Linked DNA regions of Homo sapiens: region 2 is linked to region 1. The links are contacts of gene promoters, found by promoter capture Hi-C in human tissues and cell types (Jung and others, 2019). All regions are on one chromosome and are shown on one strand. The core of a region is centred on a gene start or on the middle of the fragment in contact, and the rest is flanking DNA. Distances in the headings are between cores, read along the strand shown.

Region 1 (7,943 bases), core at 3,108-5,607:
GGAAGGAATTTTGTATGTGTACGCGAGCTCACAATTCTGGAACACTTGAACAGGGCGAGCTACACATGTCCTTGTCTCATGTCATTGTCACAGAAGAATCAGGTAGATGCTGTTACACTCCCTGTTTTCTGGATGAGCAAACTGAGGAACAGAGATGGCAAGATGTGTCCAAGACCACACACGGGGTAAGGGGCAGGGTGGGGTCACTGCTTCCATCAGAGAGCTCACCAGGTGGACTATGTGTCCGGGGGGCACCCCAGGGTGATCAACTCACTTGCAATATTGTGGGTGACCTAGTTCCTTTTTTTTTTTTTTTGAGATGGAGTCTCGCTGTGTCACCCAGGCTGGAGTGCAGTGGCGCGATCTCGGCTCACTGCAAACTCCGCCTCCCAGGTTCACGCCATTCTCCTGCCTCAGCCTCCGGAGTAGCTGGGCCTACAGGCGCCTGCCACAATGCCTGGCTAATTTTTTTGTATTTTTAGTAGAGACGGGGTTTCACTGTGTTAGCCAGGATGGTTTCGATCTCCTGACCTCAAGTGATCCACCCGCCTCGGCCTCCCAAAGTGCTGAGATTACAGGCGTGAGCCACCATGCCTGGCCATGGGTAACCTAGTTCTTAAAAATTTCTGCAGACAAAGCCGGACACGGTGGCTCACGCCTGTAATCCCACCACTTTGGGAGGCCGAGGCGGGTGGATCACTTGAGGTCAGGAGTTCGAGACCTACATGGTGAAATCCCGTCTCTACTAAAAATACAAAATTAGCTGGGTGTGGTGGCGTGTGCCTGTAATCCCAGCTACTCAGGAGGCTGAGGCAGGAGAATCACTTGAACCAGGAGGCAGAGGTTGCAGTGAGCCGAGATCGTGCCACTGCACTCCAGCCTGGGCAACAAGAGCAAAACTCCGTCTCAAAACAAAGAAACAAAAATGTCTGCAGACGGCCAGGTGCAGTGGCTTATGGCCTATAATCCTAGCACTTCCTAGCACTTTGGGAGGCTAGGCGACAGGATCTTTTGAACCCAGGAGTTAGAGACCAGCCTGGGCAACATGGAAAAATCTCATCTCTTCAAAAAATACAAAAGATTGGCCCAGTATGGTGGAGCATGCCTGTAATTTCAGCTACTTGGGAGGCTGAGGTGGGAGGATGGGTTGAGCCCAGGAGTTGGAGGCTGCAGTGAGCCGAGATCATGCCACTGCACTCCAGCCTGGGTGACAGAGTGAGAACTTGTCTCCAAAAAAAAAAAAAAAAAAAAAGGCCAGGCATGGTGGCTCACGCCTGTAATCCCAGCACTTTGGGAGGCTGAGGCAGGCGGATCATCGGATCATGAGGTCAGGAGATCGAGACCATCCTGGCTAACACGGTGAAACCCCGTCTACTAAATATACAAAAAATTAGCCAGGCGTGGTGGCACGTGCCTGTAACCCGAGCTACTCGGGCGGCTGAGGCAGGAGAATCGCTTGGACCCAGGAGGCGGAGGCTGCAGTGAACCCGAGATTGTGCCACTGCACTCCAGCCTGGGCGACAGAGTGAGACTCCGTCTCAAAAAAAAAAAAAAAAAAGAAACTTCTGCAGAGCATGCCAACGTCTGATAAGTTCTGCCTTATTTTTCCTGGGGTCTCATTGAGATCCACTGGGGAATCAAATGTAAAGTAGACGTGGAGAAATACTTTTTTTTTTTGGGACCGAGTCTTGCTCTGTCACCCAGGCTGGAGTGCAGTGGCACGATCTCGGCTCACTGCAAGCTCTGCTTCCTGGGTCCAAGCTATTCTCCTGCCTCAGCCTTCTGAGTAGCTGGGATTACAGGCGTGTGCCACCATGCCTGGCTAATTTTAGTGTTTTTAGCAGAGACGGGGTTTCACCATGTTGGTCGTGGTGGTCTCGAACTCCTGACCTCATGATCCAGCCCCCTCGGCCTTCAAAAGTGCTGGGATTACAGGCGTGAGCCACTGGGGGCCTGGCTTTTTTTTTTTTTTTTTTTTTTTTTTTTTGGAGACAGGGTCTTACTCTGTCACTCAGGCTGGAGTGCTGGAATATAGTGGTGCGAACATAGTTCACTACAGCCTCAACCTCCCATGGGCTTGAGAGAGCCTCCCATGTCAGCCTCCGGAGTAGCTGGGACCACAGGGGTGCTCCACCATGCCCGGCTAATTTTTTTAATTTTTTAAATTTTTTTGTAGAGAGGGGGCTTAGCCCTGTTACCCAGGCTGGTCTCAAGCCCTTGGGTGCAAGCGATCCTCCCGTCATGGCATCCCAAAATGCTGGGATTTCAGGTGTGAGACACCTTGCTAGGTCCTGAGTACTGCTCTTATTGCTGTTTCCTGTTTCCGAAGTGAATCCACAGAGGCTCAGAAGCAGGAGGTGCCTTTCACAAGATCACAGAGCGAGCTGGTTGGCCCTCCAAGCCAGCTCCTCCCTTGGCCAGGCGCAGTGGCTCACGCCTGTAGTCCCAGCACTTTGGTAGCCCTAGGCAGGCGGATCACCTGAGGTTGGGAGTTAGAGACCTGATCAATATGGTGAAACCCCGTCTCTACTGAAAATACAAAAATTAGCTGGGCGTGGTGGTGGGCATCTGTAATCCCAGCTACTCGGGAGGCTGAGGCAGGAGAATCGCTTGAACCTGGGAGGCGGAGGTTGCAACGAGCTGAGATGGCACCGTTGCACTCCAGGTTGGGCAACAAGAGTGAAACTCTGTCTCAAAGAAAAAGAAAAAAAAATCTCGGAAATTAGATAGTGGTGACAGCTACACAGCATTGGGAATATATTTTATATGTAAAATGTGACTCAATGAAGTTGCTTTTTAGAAAATGGAAGGCTGGCCGGGCACAGTGGCTCATGCTTGTAATCCCAGCACTTTGGGAGGCCGAGGTGGGTGCATCACTTGAGGTCAGGAGTTCCAGACCAGCCTGACTAACATGGTGAAATCCCGTCTCTACTAAAAATACAAAAAATTAGCTGGGCGTTGTGATGGGCGCCTGCAGTCCCAGCTACTACTCGGGAGGCTGAGGCAGGAGAATTGCTTGAATCCAGGAGGCGGTGGTTGCAGTGAGCCGAGATCACACCACTGCACTCCAGCCTGGGCAAGGAAATCGAAACTCTGTCTAAAAACAAACAAACAAACAAAAACTGGGGGAGGTGGCTCACGCCTGTAATCCTAGCACTTTGGGAGGGCGAGGCGCGCGGATCACCTGAGGTCAGGAGTTCAAGACCAGCCTGGTCAACATGGTGAAACCCCATCTCTACTAAAATACAAAAATTAGCTGGGCATGATGGCGGGCGCCTGTAATCCCAGCTACTCGAGAGGCTGAGACAGGAGAATCGCTTGAATTCAGGAGACGATGGTTGCATTGAGCCGAGATAGCGCCACTGTTCTCCAGTCTGGGCTGATGAGCAAGACTCCGTCTCAAAAAAAAAAAAAAAGAAAAGAAAAGAAAATGGAAGTCTGGGCTTGGTGGCTCACTCCTGTAATCCTAGCATTTCAGCAGACCCAGACAAGGAGGATCAGTTTGAGTTCAGGAGGTCGAGGGTGCAGTGAGCCATGATGGCGCCATTGCACTCCAGCCTGGGCAACACAGCAAGACCCCTCAAAAAAAAATTAAAATAGGAAAATGAAGCTGGACTGCACCATCGCTCAGGGACTGTGGGGATGTAGGATTTTATCCTATTAAAAGTACTCATCTCATAAGAAAAAGTTTACCAGCTCCTCTTCCACCTACCGGTCCAGCACCTTCCCTGGGTGGAAGTCCCATCCACCCCGCCTAAGGGATGCCTTATGTGTCCAACCCAGCGTCCAACGCGCGCGCTCCGTTTACATAGCCACGCCCACCCTCCCGGCCCGCGGCGGGGCCTACCCACCCACGTGTTTCGAGCCGGCTCCGCCCCTCCACGCCCTCTCTGCGGCTTTCCACAGAAGCCAAAGACGGAAGACTGTAGAGATCTCATAAATAATGCATCACGTCAGCGGCTGTAGGGGCGGGGCTTTGACGCGCCTGGCTGGCTGAGTCAGGGTTATGTATAATACTATGGAGGCGGGGCCTGGAGGGGTGCGCGTGTTGAGGCGGAGTTCGTTCACGGAAGTGGCCACCCCTAGGGCCTGAAGAGGCGGGGCCATAAGTGCCTTATGAATATGCAACAACTTGGGGCGTTGACTGTGGGCCTTGTGGGGCCCTCATGGGGCGTGGCCAGGCGCGTCTCCTGAATAATGTAGTGCGCTGCCTGCCGGTGTGGCGGCGACTGTTGGTTTGGTCGGACTCGGGGGGCGTGGCCAGCCGCGTCTCATGAATAATGCAGCGCGTCAGCGGGCGGCGGGGCGGGGCGTGGCCGGCGTGGCGGCGCTGGAGCCGGGAAGGGGGCGCGGGGGAGAGATGGTCGCAAGATGGCGGCGCTGAAGGAGGATAGGAGCTACGGGCTGTCGTGCGGGCGGGTTAGCGACGGCAGCAAGGTGTCGGTGTTCCACGTGAAGCTCACCGACAGTGCCCTGAGGGCCTTCGAGAGCTACCGCGCCAGACAGGTGAGTGGCATGGCGCCCGGCGCGCCAGTGGGGAACGTCCGGACGCGGGCCGGCCTCGCGCTCCCCTCACTGAGGCGTCCGGGCTCGGAGACGCTAGGTCTGTGGTGCTGCTCGCGGGTCCCTGGGCCGGCGGGGCGCGGAGTGGGCGCCAGTCCGGCCTGGAGCGCTGAGAACCGCGTTCCTTCTCAGCACTAGGAGGCAATACAGGCGGGTGGCCCGGGGCTGCTGAGGGGCCCAGACTCGCGCGCCGGGCCCGGGGGGCGTCGGTGTCGGCACCTGGCGGCGTCCGGGGCCTTTCTGGCCTGCTGGGCACCTGGGCAGGGTCCAGTTTGCGCACCTGGCGGCGGGGCGAGGAGGCGGTGGGCCGCACGGTCCCGGCACCGTGATAGGGGGAAGCTGGGGGCTTTTCCATCTGGGGCCGGGGCAGCGCCGTTGGTGGGGGTGACTGTGTCTGTCCTCCTGGGAAGCAGCGATCGTCTGGGTGCCCGGCAGGGGGTGGTCAGCGAGGCACTTGTGGGGGTCTGTTCTGTCTGGGTGGAAGGCTTTGCAGCTGGGGGCTGGCTTTGACGCGTTCCGATGAAGCCACTCAGGTTGGGCCACTTTGGTTCTTGGGACGGGGAGTTTGGGCAGAAACTGACAGCTTGTCCCAGCTTTCTGCTCCCCTTACCCCCAGGTGACCCTCTCTCTCCGGAGAGAGGTTCCTTGGAGAGTGGAAGTGTTGGGGGCGGCTGTGATGTTATCCTCAGGGCACATGTAGGGGATCCCTGCCACCCAGGAGGAAGCTCTGGCTACCACATCTGGCCGCTGACTCTGGAACTTCTCAGAGGCCGATTTGGGCCCATCTGGGGGAAGTTTGAGGCGTTTCGGTTCTGCCACCTGGCTGGTGGTGGGGAGGGGAGGCTGCTGTGTATGTTCTCTTGGGCCTGACTTTGGGGCGCATCTGGGGCCGTGGTCAGAAACCTGCCTTTTTCATTTCTGTTTGTGTCATGGCCCCCCCTCCCCCCGTCTGTGCTGGGTCAGAAGTTGCAGATGACCAGTGGTCAGGTCCCGAGGGGAAGTGGTTTAGGAACCTTGTAACTCCTTTTCTGGAAATTGGGGGCTTCATTGCCCTAAAGGGAGTGGGGGTGGGTCTAGTCTCGGGCTCAGAGAGCCCTGCTCCCTGCGTGTGTGTGTGTTTGTGTATACTGTTGATGGTGGGGGTGGGGGGGTGCCGCGGGCGGGGGAGGAGGGAGACTAACTAGGAAGGAATGTGGCTTTCTTCCTGCCCCGAACTTGTTCAGCTCCATTAGCTAAGCCGAGAATTTCTTCCCCCTGTTTCGTTTCCACCACTCTCCCGGTGCCCACCCCTTCCGTGCTTCTTCCCATGTCTTTGGGCAATTTCCTCCCTGTCCCGGTGTCGCAGTTTTCCCCTTCATGGAATGAGGATTTCATTTTTTTTTGAAAGAGCAAGTTCGCACCTTGTCAAAAAGACTCCCCAAGATGAGGCTAAGGCGCCCCTGCAGGTGAGGAGGAGACAGTGGCAGCGACAGCAGCTGCTGGCCCATGACCAGCCAGAGCCTCTCTTCCTGGTAGAATTCTGGCCCTGGGTCTTTTTCCCTGAGCGATTCTGACTTGTCCTGCAGGAAGGCAGGCTTTCCTAGAAACAGCTGGGGGAGAGCTCGTGAGTCATATAACTACGATGGACTTGGTACCTGGTCACCACTGTCTTCTGTGCTTTAGGAACCAGGAGCTCCGCCTTCTCTCTGATGCTGCCCTCGCTTGCTTTTCAGTCCAGAAGGTCCGCCTGTGTGTCCACCTCATGCTGTCACACTGCTATTTTTACTTTAGGGTATTGGTTACATCCCCTCTCTAAGCTGGATCTTCCTCATGTTAGGGTGAAGGTAACTGTGGACTGTTAAACTCCTCTGGCTCGGAGCCCAGCTGTGTAGGGCAGTGTGTTGACCAGCCAGGAGGGGCTTCCTAGAAGAACTTTTCCAAGCCATCCAGAGCAACTTGGCTGGCTGGATTATATTTTGGGGTGATTCAAACTTGGATTTTTCTCAAAAAGCTGTCTGGTAATTTAAGTGGCTTGGCCACTTTCTTTCTTTCTTTCTTTCTTTTTTTTTTTTTTTTTTGAGATGGAGTTTCACTCTGCTGCCCAGGCTTCATTGAGGTGGCGCGATCCCGGCTCACTGCAGCTTCTGCCTCCCGGGTTCAAGCGATTCTCCTGCCTCAGCCTCCCGAGTAGCTGGGACTACAGGCACGTGCCACCACACCCGGCTAATTTTTGTATTTTTAGTAGAGACAGGGTTTTGCCATGTTGGCCAGGCTGGTCTTGAACTCCTGACCTCCAGTGATCCGTCCTTCTCAGCCTCTAAAAGTGCTGGGACTACAGGCATGAGCCACTGCTCCCAGCCAGCTTGGCTACTTTCGAATTTAATCTTGCCCATGGGGCAGTATAGTGGATGGACTTTTCTAAGGCACGGCAGCTCCGTGCTCTCTGTGGTTTTGGGTAGTGAGCTTGAGGAAGGTGGCTTGAAGAACTTGATTGTGTAACCAGAGAAATATACTGGTTATGGACAAACTCTCATGTGGACAACTCTATCACCCAGAAGCCAGAGTTTTGTATTCCTCGATGCTGTGGTTATATAGTTTGCCAATTGCAACTTGTGGAGAGGGCTTTTATTTTTAATTTCTTTTTTTTTTTTTTGAGACGGAGTCTTGCTCTGTTGTCCAGGCTGGAGTGCAGTGGTGCGATTTTTCGTGTTAGCCAGGATGGTTTCGATCTCCTGACTTTGTGATCTGCCCACCTCGGCCTCCCAAAGTGCTGGGATTACAGGCGTGACCAACCGTGCCCGGCCTATTTTTAGTTTTTAATTGTGAAGAGGCTTTTACAAATTCAGGTGTGGCAGGGGCTAGAAAGGAACTTGCTGTGGAACTTTCTCTGTGGCTCCCAGGAGCAGGTAATCCTAGCTCTGGGAACAGCCCAGGTAGAAGCCCTCCTGTTTTCTCTCCCCAGAGGGCTCTGGTGTTGACCTGGTAGCCAGCTGGAGCAGCGTGGTGGAAGGTAAAGGCGCAGCAGTACACATAGCTGCTGGCCTTCTCACTCTACCTTGGACTTTGTGCAGTTTTTCTTTCCTTTTTTTTTTTTGAGACAGGGTCTTGCCCTGTCGCCCAAGCTGGATTGCGCTGGCGTGATCTCAGCTCACTGCAACCTCCGCCTCCCGGGTTCAAGTGATTCTCCTGCCTCAGCCTACCAAGTAGCTGGGATTACAGGCACGCATCACCGTGCCTGGCTAATTTTTGTATTTTTGGTAGAGATGGGGTTTTACCATGTGGTCAGGATGGTCTCAAACTCCTGACCCCTCAAGTGATCCATCTGCCTCAGCCTCCCAAAGTGCTGGGATTATAAGCTTGAGTCGCCACGCTGGGCCCCCTTTTTTTTTTTTTTTGAGACA
Region 2 (7,943 bases), core at 2,048-4,547, 520 kb before region 1:
GACAGGGCCCAATGGCACCTGGTTTCTATGCCAGGCATGTGGCACCCCCAGTGGGGCGGGGCAGCAGGGCTCTCCCACTGCTCTTGCATCTAAGAGCCAAGGATGGTAGGTGACAGTCACACCACCCTACCTTGCGATTCAAACTGCTCCACGGCCTCTTTCACTGCCTCCTCTGGCCCCATCGCAAACTCCTCGATGTTCTCGCGCACAGCTGCATCAAAGGTCTCCTGGGCAATGCGCTTGGAGACCATCTTCGCCTGTGTTGATGTTGGCGTGCAGCCGATAGATGCTCCTGAGCTGAGAGGTTAGGGCAAAGAGAGAGCTACCTCAAGGGTGAGCAGGCAATGGCAGGGCCTGGCCACCTTGAAAACGCCACTTAGGAAGCATCTACCAGCGACCAGAGCCCTACAACCACCCTGGAGAAATTCTTCCCACCTGTTATCACAGGAAAGGGTGATATCCCTACTTCCCTAGAACTTCTGCAAATACAGAAGAGGCCGGGTGTGATGGCTTAGCCTGTAATCCCGGCACTCTGAGAGGCCGAGGTGGGAGGATCACTTGAGCCTGGGAGGTCAAGGCTGCAGTGAGCCATGATCACACTACTACACTCCAGCCTGGGCCACAGAGTGAGACCCTGTCTTGGGAAAAAAAAACAAAGTGTAGGAGAGAACACAGAGTTTACTACATTTTATCTAAGAAAGGTGGTTCTTTAATATAATGATACTAGTAATGTTATTCTGAAACTATTACGGATGTAGCAAATAATAATGATTATCTTATTAGGAATCAGAATAAAAGAAAAAAGATTCTGGCTGGGCGCAGTGGGTCAATGCCTATAATCCCAACACTTTGGGAAGCTGAGGCAGGAGGATTGCTTGAGCCCAGGAGTTCAAGACCAGCCTGGACAACATGGCAAAAGTCTGTCTCTACCAAAATAAAAATAAAAATTAGCTGAGTGTGGTGGCACATGCCTGTAGTCCCAACTACTCAGGAGGCTGAGGTAGCAGGATCGCTTGAGCCTGGGAGGCCAAGATTGCGCCACTGCACTCCAACCTGGGCAACAGAGCAAGCCCCTGACTCAAAAAGAAAAAAAAAAGATTCTAACATCGTACTATCAACTAAAAACTCGGAACTCCCTATAATTAACAATATTGTATGGTATACTTGAAATTTGCTAAGAGGGTAGATTCTAAGTGTTCTCACCACAAAAAAGAAAAAGGTAACTGTTGATTGAGGTGAGTATTTCACAATCTGCATGCATATAAAATCGTCAAGTTGTATAATGTAAACATATGCAATATATTTGTATCATTTATGTACCATATATAGTATAAGATATACACTATATTAAATACAATTCGCTGGGTGCAGTGGCGCATGCCTGTAATCCCAACACTTTGGGAGGCCGAGGCAGGTGGATGACCTGAGGTCAGGAGTTTAAGACCAGCCTGGCCAGCATGGTGAAATCCCATCTCTGCTAAAAATACAAAAATTAACCGGGCATGGTGGCGGGCACCTGTGATCCCAGCCACTCGGGAGGCTGAGGCAGGAGAATCATTTGAACCCAGGAGGCAGAGGTTGCAGTGAGCCGAGATTGCACCACTGCACACCAGCCTGGGCAACAGAGCAAGATTCCGTCTCAAAAAAAAGTACATCCTATACCTCGATAAAGTTGAGAAAAAAAATCTCAGAACTCCTATATATGAAATGGGAATATCCATATAAACCCATCATGTGTTTTCTCTTAGGTAAACAAAGATCTAATTTTCTAGTCATAGCAACTAAAAATGCCTAGGAGAAATGACAGCACAGGAGCACTGAATACCTCTAACACCATGTATGGTTTCTACCATTTCCCACGAAAAGGAGCTGGGGCCAGGGCTAGGTGGCTCACTCCTGTAATCCCAGCACTTTGGGAGGCTGAGGCAGGAAGATGGCTTGAGGCCAGGAGTTCAACACTAGCCTGGACAACATGGGGAGGCCCTGTCTCTACATAAAATCTTTAAAAACAAGGAGCCAGGGCTTCTGGAGGAATGGCTGATTCCAAGTCCCAGCAGGTCATGGGGCAGGTAACGCTGGGGTCTTGTGAGACCAGGAAGCAAGGAAGCTTCCAAACCCTAAGGGATGCCTGGTAGCTACAGATGAGACAAGTGAGCATTAAAAAAAAATCCAGTACATATCAAAATCAAAATCTGGGCCAGGTGTGGTGGCTCACGTCTGTAATCCCAGCAATCAGGGAGACCGAGGTAGGAGAACCACTTGAGCACAGAGGCGGAGGTTGCAGTGAGCCGAGATCATGCCATTGCACTCCAGCCTGGCTGACAGTCAGACGATGTTGCAAAAAAAAAAAAAAGTCAAACTCTGTGCTTTCATAATACTAAAACAAATACAGCTCAGGCTTCTGAAAACTGGCCAAGAATCCAGCTCTTGGCAGGGAGTGGTGGCATGCTCTTGTACTCCCAGCTACTACTCAGGAGGCTGAGATGGGAGGATCACTTGAATCCAGGAGTTCAAGACCAGCCTGGCCAACGTAGCGAGACACTGTCTCTACAATAATTAGTAACAATTTTTTTAAAAAAAACCTAGCACTTAACCTGCCTCCCTTGTACAAATGAGTCCCAGGTTATAAAAAGAGGATGAGGAAAAGTTCTGCTTCCGATTCCAGCTGATCAGCTGTGACAGGAGAGAAACAGATAATGATCCCACAGGATCCAAAACCATCAGGTGTAAAACTGATGGGAGCCCAACAAGGGGTAGACAGGAACTCAGTCTACTGCTTGATCTCACATCATCAAGAGAAACCAGCAACACCTACCTCCTGAACAAGAACAAAATGCACCTGTGAAGTCATCGTGCCAAAATCTCAAACCCGAATCTGATCATGCATTCAGGGCACTTCCTGCTATGATGAAACGTTCTCTATCTGCACTGCCTAGTACAGAAGCCATTGGCCTCTGTGGCTATCACACAGCTGAAGTGTGGCAGTGTGGCTGAGGAACTGAGTGTGTAATTTTATTTCATTTTAATTTGTTAATGTAAATAGCCATGTGTGACGAGTGACTATGGTATTGCACAGCACAGCTCTGACACCTTAACCAACACCATGGGGATGTGATCTGCAAAATCCCTACTAGGGAAGAGAATGTCAACTAGAGGACAAACACCCAGAGTTTTCAACAAATAAATCACAAGAACAAAGAAAAGGAGACGGAGTCTACCAACAGATGAATGGATAAAATGGTCTGTGCGCATGGTGGTATATTACTCAGCCAGAGAAAGGAATGAGGTGCTGAAGCATGCTACAATGGAGATAGACCTCAAAAACATGATGTCTCGTCAAAGAAGCCAGACACGAAAAGCCTCATATTGCACGATTCCAATGACATGAAATATCCAGAACAGGCAAATCCACAGACACAAAAAGCAGACTGGGTGTTGCCAGGGACTGGAGGAGAGGGAATGGGGAGTAACTTCTAATGGGTATAGGGTTTCCTTCTGGGTGATGAAAACGTTCTTGAATTATAGTGATGATGGTTGTACAACTCTGTGAAAACGTAAAATCACTACATCAGGCCAGGCATGGTGGCTCACACCTGTGATCCCAGTGCTTTAGGAGGCCAAGGTGGGAGGACTGTTTCAAGTCTGGAGTTTGAGACCAGCAAGGACAACATAGTAAGGCCCCGTCTCTACAAAAAAATTTAAAAATATAGTCAGGTGTGGTGGCATTTGCGTGTGGTTGAAGTTACTCGGGAGGCTGAAGCAGGAGGATCATTTGAGCCCAGGAGTTCAAGGCTGCAGTGAGCTGTGACTGGGCCACTGCACTCCGGTCTGGATGACAGAGGGAGACCATGTCTCCAGAAGAAAAAAAAAAATTACTAAATCAAATGAGTGAATATTATGGTATGTAAATTATAGCTCAATTTCTTAAAGTGCTAATCTGTTTAAAAACAAAAAGAACTGAGCAATGACTTGTGCCTGTAATCTCAGCAACTTGGGAGGCTAAGGCGGGGGGATCACTCAAGCACAGGAGTTTGAGACCAGCCTGCGGCAACACAGTGAGACCATATCTCTTAAAAAAAATGTGTGTGTGTGTGTGTGTGTGTGTGTGTATACACACAAACCCACCTTATAAAATAAAAATAAGCAAGTAAGGCCAGGCATGGTGGCTCATGCCTGTAATACCAGCACTTTGGGAGGCCAAGGCAGGCAGATCACCTGAGGTCAGGAGTTCAAGACCAACATGGCGAAACCCCGTCTCTACTAAATATACAAAAATTAGTGGGGCGCCTGTAATCCCAGCTACTCGGGAGGCTGAGGCAGGAGAATGGCTTGAACCAGGGAGGTGGAGGTTGCAGTGAGACAAGATCACGCCATCGCACTCCAGCCTGGGCAACAAGAGCAAGACTTCGTCTCAAAAAATAAATAAATAAACAAACAAGTAAAACCCAGTATAGGCATACCCTGGAAACCAGGGGTAGGTATCAACACTTAGATGACCCACTAACCTTGGGCAGTACCTTCCACTCTGACAGGTGGGAACAAGACATAGAGTTAAGTAAGATAAAACTCTTGGTAAAAACACCAAATCCCTTTGCAATTCTGTTTCAAACCTGTAGCTCAGCAGTCCCAACCTTTTTAGCCTAAGGGACCAGTTTCGTGGAAGACAATTTTTCCATGGATATGGTGGGGCTAGGGTGGGGATGGTTTCAGGATTGTTCAAGCTCATTACATTTATTGTGCACTTTATTTCTATTATTGTTACATTGTAATATAATAATTATACTATTCACTGTAATGTAGGATCAGTGGGAGCCCTGAGCTTGTTGTCTGGCAACTAGACAGTCCCATCTGGGGGTGATGGGAGATAGTGACAGATCATCAGGCATTAGATTTTCATAAGGAGTGCCCAACCTAAATCGCTTGCATGTGCAGTTCACAGTAGGGTTCGTGCTCCTATAATTTAATGCTGCTGATCTGACAGGAGGTAGAGCTCAGGCATAATGCAAGTGATGGGGAGTTGCTGTAAATACAGATGAAGCTTCACTCGCTCACCCTACGCTTGCCTCCTGCTGTGCAGCCCAGGTCCTAACAGGCCAGGGACCACTGGACCAGTATGGGTCTGTGACCCAGGAATTGGGGACCCCTGCTGTAGATGATCTTAACCAGAAGGTCTTGACAGGGTACGAGTGAACCTAACATTTGCCACCGTCCCTTTGGAACAAAAGGAGGAACAGGCCTTAGGTCCAGAGCCTAACAGAGGTTAACAACTTTTTAAATTTTAATTGTTTCAATATATCCACCTTGCTTATTGCAGTAATATCAAGTTTCCGTTCTGGAATTATCAAGTTTCCACTTCAGGCCAGGCATGGTGGCCTGCACTTTGGGAGGCCGAGGCGGAAGGATCACATGAGGCCAGGAGTTTGAGACCAGCCTGGACACGTGGCGAAACTCCATCTCTATAAAAAATACCAAAATTAGCCAGGTGTGGGAGCATGCACCTGTAGTTACAGCTATTTGGGAGGCTGAGGTGGGAGCCCAGGGAGGTCAAGGCTGCAGTGAGCTGAGATCATATCCCTGAACTCCAGCCTGGGTGACAAAGTAAGACCTTGTCTCAAAAAAAAAAAAAAAGGAAAAAGAAACAGGTCACTCTGGCCCATGCTTCTCTTTTCAGGCAGTGGCATGGGATATACACATTCCATCTGTGTTCCTGCAGATGCCCACCATGGACTGCACACTGCCTGACGGGAGAAGGACTGGCTCGCAGCCAGCCTGCAGAACCCAGTTCCCATGCCCTCCACTTCAATGCCCTTTTCTTTTTTTTTTGAGACAGAGTCTCGCTCTGTCGCCCAGGTTGGAATGCAGTGGCACGATCTTGGCTCACCACAACCTCTGCCTCCTGGGTTCAAGCGATTCTTGTGCCTCAGCCTCCAAGTAGCTGAGACTACAGGCCCACGCCACCACGCCCAGCTAATTTTCGTATTTTTAGTAGAGACAGGGTTTCACCATGTTGGCCAGGCTAGTCTCGAACTCCTGACCTCAGGTGACCCACCTGCCTCGGCCTCCCATCATGCTGGGATTACAGGCATGAGCCACCACGCCCAGCCAGATACACTTTTCTTCAATTCCCTCATGTGTCAAACAGAGATAAACACGAATCTACTTCATAGGGCAGTAGTGAAAAATTCAGCCAACTCCTATACCTTCCTCAGAACAGGATATGGACAGGCTCAATAAATTAGCTATTTGTTCCTTTCCTTTGTTGCTTAAGAGGCAATTCAGCAAGTTTATGCAGGAGTCCCATCTCACTCTTTTGCAGATAGGCCCCTCTCCTTTCTGCCCCAGAAGAAAAGGGAGCTCTTTAAGGGCTGCTATGGATTTCCAAGGTTAAAGGTGAAGGAAGAGTAATATAAAGAGTTTCTCAGTAGGGAGTAAGGAGTAGGGGACTCCACTCCCACCACCCCGGCCAGGCCAGGAAATTCCTTGTGGCCCTCAAGATCTTTACCTGAAAACAATTTTGTTGAATGTCACCCTGGCAATGTAAATTGACAGGTGATCTTCACAAGTGCAGGACAGAAAGTCATCACCTGAGACAAATGCATATCCAGTTGCTCTCTCTGCCCTAACGTTTATGTAAAAATGCAGATTTGGCCTGGCTCCGTGGCTCATGCCTGTAATCCCAGCATTTTGGGAGGCTGACACCGGTGGATCACCTGAGGTCAGGAATTCGAGACCAGCCTGACCAACATGGCGAAACCCCGTCTCTACTAAAAATATAAAAATTAACTGGGCGTGGTAGTGGGCGCCTGTAATCCTAGCTACTCAGGAGGCTGAGGCAAGAGAATTGCTTGAACCCGGGAGGTGGAGGTTGCAGTGAGCCAAGATTGCGCCATTGCACTCCAGCCTGGGCGACAGAGCGAGACTCTATCTCAAAAAATAAAACAAAAAACAAGAAACAAAACCTCAGATTCATGAGTCGGACTGAGGCATAAATGACTATTCCTCTACCTGCCCTGTACCCCATATAAATCGTGTATTCTGTGAAAGGCTGACCAAAGACTCAAAAGAAAGCAATCATTTGTCTCTACCTGTGACCATCTTACACATATTCATTTATATCTCACGTCTCCCTAAAATGTATAAAAGCAAGCTGTGCCCCAACCACCTTGGGTACATGTTGTCAGGACCTCCTGAGGCTGTGTCACAGACATGTCCTTAACCTTGGCAAAATAAGCTTTCTAACTGATTGACACCTGTCTCAAATACTTCGGATTCTCAGTCCTCTGTGGAGCTTCTGCCAGCCCTTCCAGGTGGCTGCCTTTCCTGGCCACTCAGAGAGCCCACACTCTCTGGCTTCACTCCCCAACCCACAACCCCTCCCTTCCACCCACCCCTGAGCTGACTGAGTTGGGAAGGTCTGGCTCTGTGACCACCCCTGACCTGAGTCCTCCAAGGTCCCCTAGATCTGGTACAGGGCTGAGTTGGAGGAGGAAAGTACAGATTTGGAACACATAAGATGGTGCCTGGAGATGGCCAAGTAAGAATTACCTGGAGAACAGCCTAGGCTAAAAGGGGGAAGCAGCATTACCAGTCCCTATTATCCATCAGGGCATGCTGAGGGTAAAACAGAAGATGAGTAAGGCCCCTAACTGGCAGCCAGTTTCCTTCTCTCAGCCAGGAATCTGCTCATCAAGAAAACTGTGCTGTCCAGGTGCGGTGGCTCAGGCCTATAATCCCAGCGCTTTGGGAGTCTGAGGCGGGTAGATCACTTGAGGTCAGGAGTTTGAGAACAGCCTGGCCAACATAGCAAAATCCTGTCTCTACTGAAAATACAAAAAATTAGCCAGGGCCGGGCACGGTGGCTCACGCCTGTAATCCCAGCACTTTGGGAGGCCGAAGCGGGCGGATCATGAGGTCAGGAGATCAAGACCATCCTGGCTAACACG

The links. The method cuts DNA at HindIII sites, captures the fragments that hold promoters and counts their contacts. A contact is called where the count stands out against the background at its distance.
Region 2: a fragment that was not itself captured here is called in contact with the fragment with the promoter of ELL in region 1 in 1 of the 25 tissues and cell types used here (spleen).

The regions. Positions count from the first base shown.
Region 1 is chr19:18,518,484-18,526,426 of GRCh38, reverse strand. ELL (elongation factor for RNA polymerase II) reads left to right here and starts at 4,357. Exons shown (of 12, transcript NM_006532.4): 1 at 4,357-4,506. The coding sequence starts at 4,372. RefSeq lists enhancers at 3,864-4,193, 4,337-4,852, 4,853-5,368 and silencers at 4,584-4,893, 5,624-5,673. The HindIII fragment of the contact is 13,027 bases long and covers 1-7,943 here.
Region 2 is chr19:19,035,065-19,043,007 of GRCh38, reverse strand. ARMC6 (armadillo repeat containing 6) reads right to left here. Exons shown (of 9, transcript NM_001199196.2): 3 at 131-297. Among named protein-coding and RNA genes, the nearest start is that of ARMC6, 5.4 kb to the right of the region's middle. The HindIII fragment of the contact is 5,677 bases long and covers 459-6,135 here.